2 separate regions of the Homo sapiens genome follow, and region 1 is linked to region 2. The links are contacts of gene promoters, found by promoter capture Hi-C in human tissues and cell types (Jung and others, 2019). All regions are on one chromosome and are shown on one strand. The core of a region is centred on a gene start or on the middle of the fragment in contact, and the rest is flanking DNA. Distances in the headings are between cores, read along the strand shown. Region 1 overlaps PID1 (phosphotyrosine interaction domain containing 1). Region 2 holds the start of PID1 (phosphotyrosine interaction domain containing 1).

The links. Contacts are between HindIII fragments. The study calls those that stand out against the background at their distance.
Region 1: a contact is called between a fragment that was not itself captured here and the fragment with the promoter of PID1 in region 2, in 2 of the 25 tissues and cell types used here (dorsolateral prefrontal cortex and stomach).

The regions. Positions count from the first base shown.
Region 1 is chr2:229,078,901-229,085,733 of GRCh38, reverse strand. All of the region lies in intron 2 of PID1 (phosphotyrosine interaction domain containing 1), which reads left to right. Among named protein-coding and RNA genes, the nearest start is that of PID1, 190 kb to the left of the region's middle. The HindIII fragment of the contact is 3,723 bases long and covers 535-4,257 here.
Region 2 is chr2:229,269,822-229,276,939 of GRCh38, reverse strand. PID1 (phosphotyrosine interaction domain containing 1) reads left to right here and starts at 5,653. Exons shown (of 3, transcript NM_001100818.2): 1 at 5,653-5,926. The coding sequence starts at 5,897. The HindIII fragment of the contact is 5,052 bases long and covers 3,004-7,118 here.

The sequences.
Region 1 (6,833 bases), core at 1,147-3,646, 190 kb after region 2:
GACTAGTTGAAGGACAAAGGGCATACTTGATTGATGGAATCTACTTTTCTATTTATGTAACAGGTTACTTGTGTTGTCAGGTATCACAAGTATATGTCATATATATTTAAGCAATGTTTCTTCATGGGTATCTTCTAACTACCATTTTGACTGATGTTTCTACAATAGTCATCAAATGATCCTAAAGCTTCTAAAATGATTCAGAACCTGAATTTCACAATTAATTAGCCAGCCAGCTCTCTCAAAATTCAATTCAATCCAACACAGCTTTATTGAACACCTTTTGAATACAAGGCATGGGATTGATGGTAAAATGCAAAGGTAAATGAAATGACTTTCCTGACTTGAAAGAGTCATGTTCTTACGGAGGTCAGAAGACTCTAGAATCAATTGATGAGATCTTTCATGGACTTCTTGAAAGACCAAGGGAGTCACATCAAATTGTGTGATTAAGTTTCCCTCATTTGCATGAAGACAATACCTGTACTTGCTCTTTTTTTTTTTTTTTTTACAAGTATATGTAGTATGAGGATGAGAGAGATGTGTATGCAATGGGTTTATCATTGTTAAGCTATCTCTATAATTAAAATAATTGTAATAAAATAGTTGCAATTGTCATAGTTTATTTAAAGAAAAAATATGGTGCATTATCTTGTATCATTTTCCTAGTTAGAAAGCCTTGTCTTCAGCTCTTTAAAGAGGGAGGTGTTCAGAATCCAGAAACGATAAGGAGAAAGGAAGGAAGAAGAAAACATAGTTTTAAAAAGAGGTGACTCGATTTTCTACTGAAATGAACTATCTCCTTTGAACTACTAAGGAAAATAAAGCAGTATTTTTCTTAGGCCGTATCCTAACTGCTTGCTCGCTGTGAATTATGAAGCTTTAAAGCAGTAAAGAGAAATGTGTGCTTTTCTCAAGTGACTAGAGAGTGAATGCTGTGCATTGTTTCTCACATGTGATGTTAAGTTAGAGCTTGCTTCACAGACTCCACTCGCCCTTTGTTCTTGAAAAGTCTTGCCATCTTGGCTGTGAGTCTGGTGAACCCTTTTTTAATGGTCATACAACAAATACTGTAGTGGTTGAAAGTTGGCTGCTTTCGCATTGCTTCAGAGTCTGTGTCATCACATTTGTTATTAATCAGGAACATAATTATATTTGAAGCATAGAAAAGAAACCATTTATCTTGGCAGGATGGGATGAGACAGTCGCAATTCATATGCCTGTAAACCCACCAGCTAAGTCAAATCACTATTGCCAGCTCAATCGTTTTAGGTTAACCTGGAGGCGAAACAGAGCTGTCAACACCATTACCAGTTAGAAAGAAAAGACTTTTCCTGCCACTTATTGGCATAAGGAACAATTAAAGTATCCCCATGCATATGCCAAGAGAAAATTTCCACTTTGTATGAAGTGGTGGCCATGTAGGCAATGAATAAAAATAATGATAATAAATAATACAGGAGGTGGCCAATAGCAAGAAGACTTGTATCCTTTGGCTTTGTGTCTGACCTTGTCACCTCTCTATCCCTGAAATAGCCAGTGGCATGACCAGGAAAGCCAGAGTACCTCCTCGTGTATAGTTCTAGTTTAGAGCTTGCTTGAAGCAACCACAGTAATAAACACTGTGTCAGCCAGCAGAATGTAACTATTTAAAGGGTCCGATTGGCAGTGAGCTGTCTCAAGTGTCTTCTGTTTATAATCATTCACTGAAGTAAATGTTTCCTATTATATAGACAGCATGTGGTAGGTTACTGAACTTCACTGCCTGGTTAAAGTAACGCAAAGAATGTAAAAATCTGGGAGCCATTGAACTCCTTAGCTACCTCTTCAATATTTCAGTCAACCTTTACATCTTTCTGTCATGAGGTTGCCCCTGTGGCAGCTCTCTTGTGGCGTTGGCTGTTTTGAGCTATTGCACGTGACCAAGGGTGTTATAATCTGAATTGCCTTTGACAGCTTGCCAAGGTTGTACTTGGAATAAACATGTTAGCTCTGAACAGGTAACCCTTGAGTCCCAAGAGCTTCCCTGGGTCAATTTCACTCTCATCAAACCAAGAGATCTTTTCATAATGGAATTATTTCTGACACTCACTACAGAATGAGAATACACCCATATATTTTCACTGCTTAACTGAAGAGGTGGTTCTGAATCAAGTGTTTGTTTGCTGGTGTCATCCTTTTCAGTTATTTCTCAAATAACAGATGTTTTTCTCTTGCCTCAAGTTCTTTAGTGTCATACTAGTGTTTATGGCTAATATTGATTCAAAATTTGGGCAGAGGCTCCTTTTCCCTGTCTAATTTAGCATCCTATTTGCTAGTAACATTAGATCTTAAAAAAAATTCTTTTAATGTTTTGCCTGACATGGGCAGTGATGAATTGTAGCACGGCCAAGTAGTTTTTTATGCCCTTGCACTCTTGGCCTAGGTGTGCTGGGCAGTCCATTACTTGGTATACATTAGCCACTCCAGCACATACTGGATTGAATGAATGAATGATCAACTGAATAGATGGAGTTATAATATTTATGTTACTGGAAAATAAGGTGTTCAGTTGGGCCATGGAAAGAAATGGGTTCTCTGAACAGCAGGGAAAAGATTGTTCCTACAATCTCTTGGGTGCCTTTCGCAAATTCATCATTCTTCAATGTGCTTTTTTTTTCTTTATAGTTTTCCTTAATGTACAATTCCCCTGCTTTATGAAATCACATTAGGATGGAAGCATTTATTTAGTTTTGAGACCTTTATGTCCGTCAATTTATGGGCATCAATTTAATAAGTTTTTGGAGGTGCATCCCTTTCCTATTGCCACTATAACAAATTAATGCAAACTTTTTCAGCTTAAAATGACACTCATTGGTTATCTCACAGTCCTATAGGTCAGAAGTTCTGGTGGGCTTTACTGGGTCTTCTGCTTAGGGCCTTAAAAATCTGAAATCTAGATGTTGGCTGAGCTGTATTCTCTTATGGAAGATGTGAAGAAGAATGTACTTCAAAATCATTCAGATCTTTGGCAGAGTTGTTTCTTGTGGTTGTAGGACTGAGATCCTTGTTTCATCACTGGCTGTTAGCCAGGAGCCACTCTCTGCTCTAAAGGCCAGCTGCATCCCTTTTCACATGACTCCATCCATCCTCAAACCAGCAATAGTGTTGGAGTCCTTTTCACACTTCCAGTCTCTCTGGCTTCCCCCTTTGTTACAGCAAGAGAAAATTTTCGGTTTTTAAAAACAAAATTCATATGATTAAACCCACTTGCGTCATCTCCTTTTCTTAAGGTCAACTGATTAGTAACCTTAATGACACTGGCAACTCTCTTTCACTGTGTGATATAACATAATCACTGGAGTAACACCATGGGGTAAAGGTCAGTGAGTCCACCTTAGAATTAGAATTCTGCCTATCACAGAAGGTGGGAGAGAAGAAATACCAAATTATGGTACAGCCATGTTTGTTTGTTTTTAACTGACTGGTGGTGGTGTGCATTTCTCCATGCAACATTATACCTTCTTTTTGGCATCATAGTCCATGTTGGAGCCTCGTCCTCTTCCAGAGTCTGAAGGAGGCTCTGAATCATTGATAAACTTGAGCAGTTACTCTGAGTATCATGGTGACATCTCAAGAACACCTGATCTTGACTCTGTGGCAGCTCTGGGCTTGAAAATACAATTTTGAGACATATTAAAGAATACTGAGGTTTTATGCACATTTTCTGTTAGGTTAAGGTTATAATTTGTGTTTCACTCTCTTGACTTAAGTGTTGCTGAGACTAAACAGTTTCTCTGAAAAGCCAGCTGGAAGTACTAGACTGAGAATTCTTCATGATGCAGTTTGCTCTTCTTGAACTCCCCTGACTTTGAGAATTCTGTGGTACTTTCCTGAGCTATTTGGCAAATTCTTCTGCTTTTAGCTGCACTTCCCAGTAAATGCCAACATGCATCATATTCTGCAAACACTATTAACTTTTGTTTGTCCAGCATTTAACTCTTTGTGGCATGCACTCCTTGGCTTCCCTTGATGATATAGTCACCTTTAATGGAAGGAACTAAAGCAGCTTTATAAAGCAGGAAGTCATGTTTTGTAACTCAGAACAAGGAAGCTTAGAGCGTCTCATATTGCACCTTCTCTTTGCTCCAGTGGTTTCATCATGCTGCTGCCAAATGGTTCTTCTAAAATGCCATCTGCATCAGCATGCCATTCCTCTCCCAAGCCCTTCAGTGGCTCTCTGCTGGCTGCTAAATCAGCTTGAAGCATCCTGGCCAAATTTATTTCTCCTTTCATTAAAGTTTCTGCTATAGACAGGTTACATCTCAATATTTTTCTCTTGAGTCACATTTTTGAACCTACTATATACCTAAGCACTGTACATTTTATGTTGCATTATCATTATGTCTTTAGATATTTGGTCTTCCCTGCAAGAGTCCAAGCTTCTTAAGCATAGTAATCATGTTTTAACTACCTTGGTAGCTTCAGGATCCTGTAGAGGTCTGCTGAGTGGTAAGTTTTCAGAAAACAATGGTTAAATGTATTTGAATGTATGTATCAACAATGTAAACCTAAATAATAAACAGGGAGAGGCTCTCTAAAAGAAAATGATATTTATTCAGGAGTAGGCATTGCAATGGGAATATGTGTAACATAGTAAGCTATGTATGTATTCGGGGAGGTGAAGGAAAGCAGAGGTTTTTAGAGAAAAAATGAGGAAGATTACATTATTGTTTGAGATAATTATCCTTTGCCACTAGCATCCAGCAATAACAAGGGTGGTTCCAGTTTGAGGCTGGACAGGAAGGTACTGGGAAGATGTCCTCACTGAAGTATTTTGTTTAAGGTTGAGATGGCTTTTATGTGAGGTTGTGTTTTCTACAGTCTTTTATGATAGTTCTTGTTATCAGGCATTCGTGCATGAGAACCTTCTCATGGCCTTCCCTAGCTCTATTTGTTAGAGGTTTTCTTGTTTGTTTTAAACATATGTGACTGCATTTTGATTTGGGCAACATTCACAACAGTTTATTTAATAAATATTTATTGAGTCACTACTGCATCCTGCACCGTGCTAATGGCTGAAAGATGCAAGATGAATAGGATGTGACTTCTGCCCTTGAGAACATCCTAGGTTCCTAGAGAAAGACATGCATTAAATTGTTCTGTGATCTGAACTCTAATTGGTGCATATATGAGGGTTGAACACAGAATTTAGAGCACCTAATTTCACCTGGAGGGTTAGGAAAAGGCTAGGAGGTGAGGAGGTGACTTGTGGTCTGTGTCTTAGTGTGAGGGGTCATTCACAAAGTAAGTCAGGAAGCTAGGATGGGTGTTGGAGAGCCATGCCCGGGAGAGAATGCAGGATGTGCACAACCACAGAGGTATGTAAGGATGTGTTGACTCAGGGAAAGGTACCTGATTTGTTAGGGCCTCAGTATTGGGGTGAAAATGAGGCTACAAAGGTAGGTAGAAGCCAGATTACAGAAAGCCTCAAGTGCCTTGAACTTTGTCCAGAAGACAGTGAGCAGCCATGAGTTTTAAGGAAGGAACCTGATGAGATTTGTATTTTATTTTTGTTTGTTGATTCTTTCACATGAACCATGGAAGACAAGTTTTACCCATGTCTCCTCCTGGCCAGGCAGCCGCTGAGGTGCTCACAGGTCATGCCTTGGGAGGGTGGACTGGAGAACAGGGAGGCAGGAGAGGCCCCGCCTCACCTGTCCCCTCCCCTGTTGCTGGACTGCAGCTGCCTTGCTGCCTCTGACCGGCAGAGTCCCAGGCAAGCTCCCTCCTGGACCCACTTCACAGCTTCCATGCCAGTGCTCCATGCCCATCTCCTTCCTCCCCTGCCATGGCTTCAACCTCACTGCCCTCCTCCAGAATACCTGAGAGTGTTTCTGCTTAAACATCTTCTTTTTCCCATAGTATAATGGGGGCACAATAATTACTGGATAGATTCAGCCCCTTGGTCCCAGGCTCTGCTCTTTTAACTTTGGATTTAACTGATGCTTGACAGAATACAGAGAAAGATTGGTCTCATCTTACATCTTTCCATGCCACTATTTATCTCCTCAAATGGAACAACTGGAGATGCTAAAAACCCACTTCTTGAAATTACAGGACAGAAAAGAACTTGTAGTACTTCACTTCCCTGGCACGTCTTGAGTGCCATAGACACTTAATAGTGGCTCATGCCTCAGTGGAGAACTGGGGAAACAAATTGTAGAAACCAAAATGGAACTAGAGAGGATAGAAAGACAGATAGTATAGCAGCTTAAGGAAAGAGACTCAAATCTTTCTAGAGGTTTCCCATCTTTGATTCCTCAGAGCATATATTCTTGACAAACTGCAAAATGATTCAATAGATATGTTATTTTTAAATTAAAAAATAAAAGTGTCTTCAAATCTTTGAAGTCCTGTTGAATTAGGATAAGTAGACACAATGAATAAATATTTTGAATAAAACAAACCATATAGCAGTCATGGCAAATAAAGGAGGTCCCAAAGAGGCTTTTTTAGAGTTAAAATACAATTTCCTGGCCAGTCTTCTCAGCCCCGACTTAGACCGATACTCATCCTGGTCTTTGATGAGTAAATTTGCTTTGGTTTCTGATTTATAATAACTTGACAAAAAGAAAAGTATATCTTTTAAATAATCTACTTTTTGCTTTTTTCAATTTATTTCCTCCCTTTTTGTTTTAAATTGTTTCCACAGGCACTTGATATTACATACAGTTCTACTTTGGAAACATAGCATCACTTGTTTTGCCTAAGCAATGTTATAAAACATTTTTATCTAACCTACACTTACTTCAGCATTCTTTTCCATTTTCCTCACTCTCTGAAAAGTATTT
Region 2 (7,118 bases), core at 4,404-6,903:
TCTTATTGTGGAGACTTTTTTTCTAGACAACCTAATTTCTATAAGTTATGCCCAAACATTTCCTATAGGTTTTAGGATAAGTAATTCTTGGCTTTGATAATGAAAGTGGGAAGAAAAGGGAGAAAAAAATAGAAGCAAAGGAAGATTGGTTTTTGTGTGAAGTCAGCTCAGATGGAGAAAGGATGAAGTGGGAAGATAGCATAAGGTGTGGCTTCACACAAGTCCCCATGAGAATGTATTTGGGATCATAGAGCTAATCATTTCATCACGAATACAGATGAGGACAAGGACCCTTAGAAACCACAGAGAACATTAATAGTGCAGAGTTGCCCCTTTCTGGGCTAAATGTGGTGAAGGCAAATCTAAACACCACTCTCCATTTCACTCTCAATTCCCCCAGGCTCTAAGTGAAAGAGGAGCTGTATTTACCCATCCAAAATGATGGGCAGATAGCTGTCTAGAGACAGTGTCGCTGAGAGGGTGAGAAGGGCTGTAAAAGAGCAGATATGTTCATGTTTATTGCAAATTGTGCCAGAAAATAAATTCATCTTAATCATTATATGGCTGGCGCCCAGCCCAATTCCCATCTTCTTTTCAGAGGGACTTACTAGAAAATTTAACAGATGGGACTTGGATACAGGGCCCACACAATCTGAGACTAGGATGGAGGTGTGTATGAGGGAATTGTGAGAGCAGAAATAAAACCAAAAGAGGAAATAAGTTTTTATGTTAGACTATTAGGCTTCATTTTACTGCTAACCCTGATCAATTGGTTGTTAGGAAATGTTGAGAAGGGTGTGTTTAGCGGGAAAGACAGACACTTATTAGTGATGTTTTCTCTATCAGTTTTCTATTATTACCTAACAAACCACCCAAAACTTAAGGGATAAAACCCAACCTTGTTATGTACTCATGATTCTGTGGGTCAGCAGTTGGCAGGTCTCAGCTGGGTGGTTCTTCCACTGGTGGGACCCACATGGGATCACCCATGTGGCTGCTGTCGTGTAGTGGCTTGAGCTGGGTGTTATGAGATGACCTTACTCACATATCTGGCTGTGGGTGCTAACTCATGGTCTGACCTCCCTCTGTGTTGTTCTCATCTTGAGGAGTCTAGTCCAGGCTCCTTCATAGGATGACTTATGTTCCAAAAGGGTGAGAGCAGAAGCTGCAAAGTGTTTTGTGGCCCAAGCTCAGAAGTTCCACAGTGTCACATCTGCTGCATTTTATTGGTCAAGTATGCCACAAGTCCAGCACAGATTCAAGGAATGTGGACAGATTGCATCTCATGATGAGAGAAGCAGGCAAGTTACAGTGCAAATGGGCATGACTTCCTTGGGGAGGGGAGATTTTTGTGGGCATTTCTGAAAATAATCTATCAGGTGTCTAAGGTTTGTGAGGATATGAGGAGTCAAGAGTAGGAGAGTCACAACACACGAATGAGCCAGTCCTACCCTGTTAAGCGTCATCTTAACATCCCAATACATTCCTATCACTCTGTAGGGACGAAAGCCAGTGGTTCTGTCACTACTGGGAGGTTTAAATGGTCGAATGAATTTTCAGACTTTTTTATATTGCTCATTTATATACAGCTGTTTTGGTGATTTTGAAATAAGGTTAGTGATACCATAACAAGGGCTTTTTAATGATAATTCTGCTAAATACACAACCATAATAAATTTTGCTGTCATCTGCTTAAGTTAGAATTGTAAGTGGGCCAGGTATGGTGGCTCATGCCTGTAATCCTAGCGTTCTGGGAGGCCAAGGCAAGTGAATTACTTTAGCCCAGGGAGCCTGGGAAACACAGCAATACTCTATCTCCATAAATTTTTTTTTTAATTAGCTGGGTGTGGTGGCACAAACCTGTAGTCCCAGCTATTCAGGAGGCTGAGGTGGAAGGATTGCTTTGAGTCTGGGAGGTTGAGGTTGCAGTGAGCCGAGATCGCGCCACTGCACTCCAGCCTGGGCGATAGCGTGAGATCCCATCTCAAAAAAGAAAAAAGAATCGTAAGTGAGCTTGAATATCCTTTGTCATTTTTATTTGAGAATCTAAAGCAAATAATTGAAACCCACAAATATTCCAAATGGAAATAGTGTAACCACAAGAAGCATGGGCCGCTTTGTGAGAATTGGATCATTCCAATAATAAAAAGAGAAAGAAACATAATGGGGATGAAAACGAATGTTTCCCACACACCTACCATGTGTCAGGCATGCTGCACATATTAATTCATTCACTCCTCCCCAAAATCCTAAGTATTAAGTAATATTATCACCCATTTTATAGAAGAGAAATCTGAGGTTCAGCAAGGCAAATGACTTGTGAAAAGCTGATACCTAGGTAGACAGTTCGAAGGCTGGGATTCAACCTGAGTCTTCTGCTTGTCCTAGCTCCTTTCCAACATTTACTGAGATTGATAAATATTTTATACATATATTCAAATTATATACATTTTATCCTACTTTAAAAACCATAATTGTATCATTTTCAGCTGCAACACAACTTTATAATTATCCTTTTAAATGCTGCATAATATTTTAATATTTCTTTGATATGCTGGACCATACTTTCATTCACCATTACTCTGACTTGGACATTGAGGTTGCTTATGCTAGGGCTCAGAACCATGAACTAGATCAAATCTGGCTTAACACAATTTCTAGGGATGCTGTAATTATTTTTCTGAACCAAATGTGTGAATAACGCATCTGTGCCTTGTCAAGCTTTTTTGATTTCTGTCATTTGCCTTCAAATGGTATTTATTGACAAGATTAGACCTGTTTCGGTAATTGCAGGAGACTAAGTACATGAAATTAGGCACACATTTACATGCCTAATATTTCTACTCATTGCACCAAAACACCTTCTGCTCATTTTAAGGGTGGTTTCTTGCTCAGAACAAACCTGTTTACATCGTAAGGCAGCATTTTCAGATTCACCAGGAAGGATGAGGTTCCAATGTCACAGAACAGAGCTGGGAGACATTGGCATGCAGGTCTCATCTCTAGCCAGCAGATGTCTCTATTTCATTCACCCTTCATTGCAGGCTCCTCCTGAATGGGAAGACTTGGGAGCAAAATCTATGAGTGGGAGGTTGTCCCATCCTTTTGTCACCTCCCACAAGCCTGCAATTGCCCCTCCTCCACCCCCTCCCCTAGCTTCCTGATTCGTGGCATAAAGGTAATTGAAACAGGAGTGCCATTTGAGTTTAAATACATTCTTTACTTTACCAAATCTGTTTGCAAAGTGGGAACGGTAACTGAAAGCAATCTTTACAGAGCCAAAGCTTTTTCTCTTTAAATAGCACCATACTCCGTACTAAAAGCTGTATTACTGAGTCATAACAATTAATTACGTTTGGAGGTGAGAAGACAGGATTTAACGCTCTAATGCGATTTGAATTTAGGCCGTTAACTCATTCCACTGCTATTTAAAACAAAATCACTTTTCCACGGAAGCATCTGCAAGCAAGGATGGTTTCAGAGCTTAAGTCTGAAGACATCCCTGGCAACTGAATATTCCTGTTTTAGCTTCCTGGGGGGGTTGGGGGGTGGGGTTTATATGCATGTCTGGATTTTCTAGATTTTTGTAATGAATTGCATTTCTTTCTACTTTGGGATTTGATAAAAGAGAACTGGGGGCTGGGAAGGTCATAAGGAATTTTGTAGGTGTGGAGGTGTGCAGGAGGAGTTACCGGAAAAGCAAACAGAGACCATATCACCAAGCATGTGAGGCACATGTCTGTGCGGGCTGACAGGCAAACACCTCATGAAAAGAGATTTATTAATAAGTTCAGAACAAGTAGCAGGAACTGGAGAAGGAGCTGAGAAGGTTCAGGTGGTTATCAGGCAGGAGTGGGAGGGTCCTGTGGATATCCAGGGAGACAGAGACAAGCTCTTCAGAGGCAGCTCTGTGGCTTTGCCAGAGGCTCCTAGAGGCACTGAGGGTCCTGGGCTTGCCAAGGCTGGTGGCACCAACATAGCAACCGCAGGGTCCAGAAGGATCTGCCTGGAATCCTGGATCTGAATCGCCATTGTAACTCCCCACAGTGTGACTCTGTGAACCCTGTGCTCCCCAAGCCTTGGGAGATAGGGGCTTCTGTCCCACGGAGAGTTGCTGCGAGGGTCCGATGAGCTGAGGGTTAGATTCTGGAGTGGTTCCATATCTGGAAATCATTGTAGTCATGCAGAACAAGGAAAATGGACAGATCCTCCTTCCAGACATGGAGTGTGGATTTTGACATTGCATGAGTAGCTCACGGCCCAAGCTGTGCAGCTGTCTCAGTATGAAATGCCTCTCTTTCACACCCCTCTGCTCTCAGGACCCTGCCTTGTAGGAGCCTAGGGCTCCCCACAAACATTGTGTTCTCTCTGCTCCTCTCTTTGGTCATTCTATGTCCTGAGTTCTTCCCACCATGTTCTCCTCTCCCACTCTTCATCAGCTCGAGAATCAGCTTAGTATCCCTGACTTGCCAAGTGCCTTTAACCCCCAGCCCTAGACGGATGCTCTTTCCACTGGGTTTCCATGGTCAGTTAGAGGCGCAGGGCCACATCTCCTGCCCTGAAGTCATCTGACTGTGCACTCTCTAAGCCACTCACTGGCTGTGTGACCTGGACAAGTGACCTAAACCTTATAAGCCTCATTTGTTTGATCCACATGGTGAAAATATTAATAGTTATTTTGCCGAGTTGTCAAGAGAATGGGAAGGGCTGGCCTGTTTAGGACAGGAAGTCATCTCATGGTGGCCGGCACTAGCCGGGGAGCCTCCAGGCCTGCGAGCCCAGAGCGGCTTTCCCTTGGGTTCTGAGAGCCTCCTGCTGCACCTGGCAGATCTCAGGATGAGTTAGTGATTCGGGAGTCTGCATGGCCCTCCTCACCCCTGTATAGGTTAGGAGTCGAGTCCTCTCCCCATCATGAAGCATGGCCTCTTCGTGGCCAATCCCTCTCATCTCTCAGGTCTTACTCCAGGCATTCCCCAGGGCCCTTGTCTAAGAAGCTCTCCTCTCCCCTTCTTCCCACATCTGCCCTGTTTTATCACCACCCGATATAGCACCGGCTTGTTGATGTGTTTGCTCAGTCACGACTCTCTCTCCAAAGCAGAAGGTAAGCTCCAGAGAGAAGGAACATTCTCTTGTCTTCTATTCTGCGTCGCTGCATCCTCAGAACCCAGCATAGGGGCTGGAGCCTAATAGATGCTCAGTTAACTGGAGTGGGAAGAATGAATGGAAGTGTCTCCCTAGCACAGCGCCAGGCACAGCACAGGCACTTCAGAGATGCCTGTTATATGGAAACCCGGGACCCCCGGGGCTACGGTTTCCTTATTTTAGGAATTTCCCCCACCCCCGCCACCCCCGACATCCCCGCTGCCCCCACCACCCCCGGCTCCAGGCCCTTCCCCCCTCAGCCAGTCTGTCCCTTTTCCCAGACCCCAACCCAATGGGGGCTTCCTGCAGGGAAGGGCCGGCTGTTCTAGCCTCCCCATTCACCCCTCACTAGGATTTAGAGTCGGCCGCGCTGCACTCCCGCCCCGCGCGGCCCCTGGGCGCCCGCCCCGGGCATGCTCAGAGCGCGCAGGTCCGGGCGGCGGCGGCGGGGGAGGAGGGAGCGGCCGCCCCCGCCGCCGCCGCGCGCTCGCCGGGCCCGGGCGGAGCTGCGCAGTCCTCTCGCAGCTGCGCCAGGACAGCCGGCGCGCGGCCGTGCCCACAAGTTGCCGGCAGCTGAGCGCCGCGCCTCCTCCTGCTCGCAGCCCCCTACGCCCACCCGGCGGCGGTGGCCAGCGCCAGGACGCACATCCCGCGGACACCGACCCCAGATGTAAAGCGGGACCCCAGCCCCTCGCCCCCCGGCGCGATCGACAGTCTCGCCAGCGTCTCCTCTGCCAAAACCCAGGGCTGGAAGATGTGGCAGCCGGCCACGGAGCGCCTGCAGGTAAGGGGCACCCGGGAGCCGGGGGCCAGCCTGGAGGAGGAGGTGCCCGGGCAGAGGAACCTAGTTTTTGCTTCTGCCTACTTTAGGGGATTTGCCCAAAACCATCTTGTAAGACGCATCGATGGCAACATGATGCTGTCGGTTTACCCAGCGCCAGGAACCCGGCAGGGGTATGGGGATGATGAAATTGATAAACGCACGGGTTCAGGCGTTACAACTTTTGGCTTGGAGGTGCTTGTGTGCGTGTTGGTTGGTACATATAAGGTTGGACTTTCTGACTGGCAATTTAGATTGCATTCCACTGACACAATGCAGTGGTCTGGGGTTAGGATTTTTGAAGCCAGATTTTTTTTTTTTTTTTTTTTTTTTTGTGGTCACCAGGAAAGACAGAACAAGTGATATGTGAAAGCATCCATTTGCCAATATAATGTGGAAATATCAAGCTTGGTTTGGCTTGGTCATGGTATGCTACTTATTTTATTTTTCCCTATTCATTGGTTCTCTCCCTTTATCTTCCTTAAACCCAAGCTCCTTCAGATATTTAAGAATCAAAAGTAGGTTCAGCCAGGAATATTTATGTCCTGGGTTATCCCATCAAAAGTTTTTTACTGCTGTCTCCTGAAATGCCAGACTGCCTTGAATTGGATTCTGGAAGCTGGGGATTTGCGGGAGGCGATTGAAGAGAAAGAGGGACCTTTCCCAGAAGAACTCCTTCAGTGACACGTTGGGCCTTGGGATTGCCCTGGTTGCAAGGTTTGAGGACTGCCTTTTGCTGGCAAATATTGTCAAGAGTCACGGCAGCTACTCTGCCAGATAAAATCCACTGAATCCTGCAGTTAAACTTTTGGCAAGCTAGGAGCCACATTGTTTCGTAGTAAACTTTGAAGACGTGTTTAACTGGTAAAATACAGCACCATTGGAGGCTGAGTGCATCTGAAGACTTAGGACAATGAGGCCAGGCCCTGGCTAGGTTGGAGGCTTCTCAATGAACATTTACAGCCCCAAGCACAGTTTCTCAGATGCAGGGAGAGGCTAACCTTTGTCTAGGAGTCCTCATACAGAGGAACAACCCGCAGAGGGCATTGCATTTAGCAGAAACAGATGCCCCACAGCTCCTTTCCAAAGCTCCCTGGGCCATGATTTGCGGGGAGTGTGTTCAATTTATCAGAGCCTGAGACACCAGACCAGTTCC